Linked DNA regions of Homo sapiens: region 1 is linked to region 2. Evidence: promoter capture Hi-C in 16 types of primary human blood cells and fetal thymus (Javierre and others, 2016). All regions are on one chromosome and are shown on one strand. Each heading gives the region's core, a stretch centred on a gene start or on the middle of the fragment in contact. The rest is flanking DNA. Distances are from core to core; before and after follow the strand shown.

Evidence for each region. Contacts are between HindIII fragments. The CHiCAGO score rates a contact against its expected background, and 5 or more counts as called.
Region 1: a contact is called between a fragment that was not itself captured here and the fragment with the promoter of PYCARD in region 2, in 3 of 17 cell types (erythroblasts, activated CD4 T cells and fetal thymus). The highest score is 7.3, in erythroblasts.

The regions. Positions count from the first base shown.
Region 1 is chr16:31,721,805-31,724,876 of GRCh38, forward strand. It overlaps KRABD5 (KRAB domain containing 5), which reads left to right. Exons shown (of 5, transcript NM_001130913.2): 2 at 822-948; 3 at 1,454-1,549. Among named protein-coding and RNA genes, the nearest start is that of KRABD5, 10 kb to the left of the region's middle. The HindIII fragment of the contact is 1,106 bases long and covers 1,156-2,261 here.
Region 2 is chr16:31,201,399-31,204,387 of GRCh38, forward strand. PYCARD (PYD and CARD domain containing) reads right to left here and starts at 1,362. Exons shown (of 3, transcript NM_013258.5): 1 at 1,019-1,362; 2 at 749-805; 3 at 88-443. The coding sequence starts at 1,292. The coding sequence ends at 187. PYCARD-AS1 (PYCARD antisense RNA 1) reads left to right here and starts at 487. Exons shown (of 2, transcript NR_102400.1): 1 at 487-588; 2 at 1,062-2,054. RefSeq lists enhancers at 193-823, 1,013-1,242 and a silencer at 1,353-1,712. The HindIII fragment of the contact is 5,508 bases long and covers 1-2,542 here.

The DNA.
Region 1 (3,072 bases), core at 459-2,958, 520 kb after region 2:
CTCTGGACCTGAGGCATTGGTGTCACTGGTAAGCTTGTTAAAAATGCGGAAACGCAGCCCCAGCCCCAGCCCCAGATCTCCTGAATCAGAATCTGCATTTGAACCAGTTCTGCAGTTTATTGCTGAACACAATAAAATTTCAGAAGTATGCCTCTAAGTCACCATGACTTTTCCACCTGAGAATTATATACAACTGATTGTGGATGATGTAAATATAGACTAAAAAATGTATACTCCTATGTTGATGCGTTAGTTTTTTGTTTTTTGTTTTTTTGTTTTTGTTTTTTGAGACGGAATTTCGCTCTTGTTGCTCAGGCTGGAGTTCAGTGGTGCAATCTTGGCTCACTGCAACCTCCACTTCCTGGTTCAAGTGATTCTCCTGCCTCAGGTTCCTGAGTAGCTGGGATTACAGGCATGTGCCACCACGCCCAGCTAATTTTTTGTATTTTTAGTAGAGATGGGGTTTCATCATGTTGGCCAGGCTAGTCTCGAACTTAGGTGATCCACCCATCTCGGCATCCCAAAGTGCTGAGATTACAGGTATGAGCTACCGCGCCCGGCCTCGATGCCTTAGTTTTATACTTTATATTCCATATAGGCATAGTATCTACACTGGTTTTGTGGATTTTGTATCATTCTCTTTCCACAGAGTTAGAGAATACATAGAAAATATTATTGTGTTTAAAAGTATCTTATTGAATATTTCAGGTCACTCATATAAATCAGTCAGTTTTCTTAGCTCTCTTATTTCATCTTGGTTTGTCAAGTGATGAACTCTGCCCATGGCCACATGGTCAATGTGCTATTTATTTTTATTTCAGGGACTGTTGACATTCAGGGATGTGGCCATAGAATTCTCTCGGGAGGAGTGGGAACACCTGGACTCAGATCAGAAGCTTTTATATGGGGATGTGATGTTAGAGAACTACGGAAACCTGGTCTCTCTGGGTGAGGATAACTTGCCTTTGGAATATCTAATATCTAATAACTAAGGGTTTTATTTCTTTCCTTTGTAGAATGTCACTTGGGAGCTTATGCTTTATATGAATGAATTCAGATTCCTGTTTCCAGGAAAAAAAAATTGTGGGTTTGTTGTAGAAAAGACTTCCTAATGTTTGATCTTGACATTTGCCTTCTTTCTTGAGGTGATGTAGAAGCTTCACTCTAGTTTAGTAGTGATTCTAGAAAATTGAGTGACATAAACTATCATTGCCCACACTTTAAAATCTAATTCCTTCTCCTTATTTTTGATTTAGTCATACTTGGAAGTGAAGCTCAGGATTCCTGTGTTTAAAATGCTTCCTGAATATTCTAAAGAAGCTGACAGGAAACAGTATTTGGGGAAGTAATTTTCTAGGATCCTCTATAATGTTCCCTCTTTACTGAGTATCCTACTGAGCTGGCAATTAAAGAACTCCCAGCAAGAGTCATGTGACTTTTTCTAATAAAACAGGTCTCGCTGTCTCTAAGCCGGACCTGATCACCTTTTTGGAGCAAAGGAAAGAGCCCTGGAATGTGAAGAGTGCAGAGACAGTAGCCATCCAGCCAGGTAGGTGGGAGTGAATGAAGTAGATGACATGGGCGAGAGGTCCAGAGATTAAGAAAGAACCAGACCTTGAAGTGTGGATTGGGAAGTTCTCCAGTGGAAATGATTTTTGAGACACCTGGGTTTATTTCTTTCTCTTGCTGCTGTCACAGAGGGACATCTTCTGTCTCATATTCTTAAATTATCTGATTATTCTCCTTACCCTTCTGTGATCCACCATCAAATTCACAGTGACAGCCAAAGTGCTCCCCTTGGCCTGTGAGGGCCTGCGTGATCTGACTGTTCTTCCATTGATTTGGGGGCTCTGGGAAAGTCTGTGCATGTTTCTACCTCTATGTGAAACCACTTCTAAAGTTCTGGTTTTGCCTCATGTCAGAAGTGTGTGAGGCGAGTGATGGACAGTAGGATTTTTTTCAGAAGTCCCAGGAATTCTGTGGATAGATGTCACATATTTTCTGGTATATTAATTTCTAATCCTATGGTGGTTTCCCAGATGATCCTACAAAAATTGAGACTCAGTAATTCATCAGAGTGCAAAACATCTTCCTAAATATAAAAAAAAATCTGATTCTGTATTTCACTTCAACTTTTCATCTTTCCTAGCCTAAACTAAGATTAGAAATATAATCTCTGTATGCACAAATTCCACAGATTTAAAATCATTTAATATATTACTTACTATGTAGAATTCTTAACTAAATGAATGTCTATGGGAAGCTTACAACATTGTCCAGTATATAGTGAACTTTCAACTCTTACCTTATATATTCATAACATTTTATAATTTTGTCTGGTTAACTGTGAAGCTTAATGAGAATGTGTTCTTTATGTTCGTTTTCTTTCTTTTCCTTTTCTTTTTTCTTTTCCTTCCTTCTTTCATGTGGATTTTTTTCCCACACTTGTAAATTATATATATTTAAGAGGTGCATCCTGATCGTTTGATTTTATATATGTATACATTGTGTATTGATTAATACAAATAAATTAATTAACATATTAATCATCTCACATAGTTGCCAGGTTTTTTGTGGAGAGAACATTAAAGATCTACTGTGGGCCGGGCGCGGTGGCTCACGCCTGTAATCCCAGCACTTTGGGAGGCCGATGCAGGCGGATCATGAGGTCAGGAGATTGAGACCATCCTGGCTAACACGATGAAACCCCGTCTCTACTAAAAAATACAAAAAAAAAATTAGCCGGGCGTGGTGGCGGGTGCCTGTAGTCCCAGCTACTCTGGAGTCTGAGGCAGGAGAATGGTGTGAACCTGGGAGGCGGAGCTTGCAGTGAGCCGAGATCGCGCCACTGCACTCCAGCCTGGGTGACAGAGAGCAAGACTCCGTCTCAAAAAAAAAAGAAAAAAAAAAAAGATCTACTGTGTTAGCAAATCTCAAGTATATATGAGTATTGTAAACTATATTCATAATGCTTTACATTAGATCCCCAGAATTTATCTTTTAAATGAAAGTTTGTACTCTTTGACCAGTATCTCCCCAGTTTTACCACCTGTCAGCTGTTGGGACCCGTTC
Region 2 (2,989 bases), core at 112-2,611:
GGGACATGGAGCTGGAGGCTGGGTGGCCTCTGAAGCATAGCTGAGCTCTGCACATGCCAGCAGGCTAGAAGCAGGAAAACACACAAGTTCAAGCTGGCTTTTCGTATATTGTGTATAAAAAGATCAGATTCAGGATGATTTGGTGGGATTGCCAGGGGCTGACCGGAGTGTTGCTGGGAAGGAGCCTCAGCTCCGCTCCAGGTCCTCCACCAGGTAGGACTGGGACTCCCTTAGGGCCTGGAGGAGCAAGTCCTTGCAGGTCCAGTTCCAGGCTGGTGTGAAACTGAAGAGCTTCCGCATCTTGCTTGGGTTGGTGGGCTCGGCCCGCACTGCCTGGTACTGCTCATCCGTCAGGACCTTCCCGTACAGAGCATCCAGCAGCCACTCAACGTTTGTGACCCTCGCGATAAGCGCAGCCCGGTGCTGGTCTATAAAGTGCAGGCCTGGGGGTGGGAGGAGAACATGAGCCAGCAGCCAGGGTGTGGGGCCTGTCCCTGCTGAACTTGAGTTCTTCAGGAATTCCTCTGCAAGCCTAGGGGCAGGGCTCCAGGGGGCGGCCACCAGGACCCCACATGCAGTGGGATGAGGGTAATATTGTCTCCCTTCCCCCGCAGGGTGTGGGTTGGTGGGTGGGGTGCGCAGGGTTGCCAAGCCGTGCCTGCCCTGCCCTGCCCTGCCCTGGTTGCGGGAGCACAGATGCAGGCTGTGCAGGAGTGCGGTGGGGCCGGGCTGGGTGTGGAGGCCTCACCTGGCTTGGCTGCCGACTGAGGAGGGGCCTGGATCCCAGCTGGCGCGGCTCCAGAGCCTGGAAGGATATGGGCCAAGTGATCCCCTTCCCTTCCCTTCCCGCCGTGGGGCCGGGGTCCCGTTGGTCGGTAGGCCAAGCGTGGGGAGCCTCCTTTCCGGTAGAGCAGCTTTGTTTAGGGGTAGGAGGAACAGAAAGCGGAAGAGCCCGCGGGGTAAGCGCTGGTGTGGGTGGAGGGGAAAGACGGGGTGGAGGGGAACGGGGGCGGCTCACCCTGGTGCGTGGCCGCCTGCAGCTGCCCGGCCATCTCCTGCAGGCCCATGTCGCGCAGCACGTTAGCGGTGAGCTCGGCGCCGTAGGTCTCCAGGTAGAAGCTGACCAGCTTGTCGGTGAGGTCCAAGGCGTCCATGGACAGCAGCGCGCCCCGCGGGATGCGCCCGTAGCCCTCGCGCAGCGGCACCGACAGCAGCTTCAGCTTGAACTTCTTGAGCTCCTCGGCGGTCAGGTTCTCCAGCGCATCCAGGATGGCGTCGCGCGCGCGCCCCATGGCTCCAGGATCCCCGGCCGCTGCCGCCGCTCACCCCGCTGCAGCCGCCGACCAGGAGGAAGTCGGCTCCGGGGCGGAACCTGGACTCCCCGCCTTCCTCCCACTCTGGTCTCCCGACTCCCCGCCCCGGTCCGTTGCCCTCCAGCAAAAGGCGCTTCCTTACTACACCCTTGGTCCCCTCCCACCCAGGCCTCTGGATTGGGGCCCCAGGCCGTCGGGGGACGCCAGGATCGCGCCCTCCAGCTGGCCTGCGAGGTGGGACCCGGGAGGGGGCCGCAGAGGGGCTCATGGGTGGCGCCTGCTTGTCTCTGGGCTTGCACCAGCGGGTACAGACCGGAAACCTGGGCTGGCTCTCACTGGGTTTATTGGAGCACCTAGGCTTAGAACCTCGGATTTCTAGAACCCCGAAACCTCCGCGGTTCCCCGAACCTTAGGATCCTCTCCCACATGTCGTAGAATCTTGGAATCATGACAGCTAGAAGCGTGAAGCTCCCTCAATTCCACATACTGGGGAAAAATGAGTTGTACAAAAGGGCAGAGAGTGCAAATCTCTCTGAGCTTCAGTTTCATTTTCTACGACATGGGGATAACCCTCCGGTGCTTATAAATATTCCAGCATAACATGGCCAACCCGATGGCTCCCGAAACCTTGCCAGATGCTTCCTAGGGGAGCCAGAATTTGATCCCAACACTGATTAAAAAAAAGAAAAAAGAAAGAGAGACAGCCTCCAGGAGATTAAAGACCATGAACTTGAAGCCATACAGTTCTTTGTTTGAATCCTGACTCTACTTCCCAAGGGGGATATTTGGAATCCTTTATTTTTCCCTCTCATCTGGGTTGTAACAATCACTGTTCCTTGTAGTCATACGACCCTGACATATTATACGTTTATATGCTTATTGGACATTCATCCCTCTCTAAAATGTGAGGCCTATGAGCATCGGAGACCTTAACTGTCTTATTCTTTGCTGAATTCCTAGCGTCAAGAATGTACCTGGAAATAGCTGTGTGTGGTGGAGGGCGCCTGTAATCCTAGCTACTAGGGCGGCTGAGGCATGAGAATCGCTTGAACCTCGGAGGCAGAGGCTACAGTGAGCCAAGATTGCACCACTGCACTCCAGCCTGGGTGACAGAGCTAGATTCCATCTGAAAAAAAAAAATGTATCTGGAACACATTAGGTGCTGAGTAAAGATTTGCTGAGTGAAGGAATGAATGAGGCTGTGATGCCTGCAGCATGTTGTATTCAAAAGCTTCCAGCATGGCTGGGTGCAGTGGCTCATCACGCATGTCATCTCAGTGCTTTGGGAGGCTGAGGCCGGAGGGTCACTTGAGCCCAGGAGGTTGAGGGTGCAGTGAGCTATGATTGTGCCACTGCACTCTGTGCCACTCGGCAACAGACACCTTGTCTCAAAAACAAACAAGACAACCAGGATGGGCCGGGCACGGTGACTCATGCCTGTAATCCCAGCATTTTGGGAGGGCGAGGTGGGTGATCAGGAGTTTGAGACCAGCCTGGCCAACAGAGTGAAACCCCATCTCTACTAAAAATACAAAAATTAGCCGGGCGTGGTGGCAGGTGCCTGTAATCCCAGCTACTGGGGAGGCTGAGGCAGGAGAATCGCCTGAACCCGTGAGGTGGAGGTTGCAGTGAGCTGAGATCACACCATTGCACTTCAGCCTGGGCAACAAGAGCGA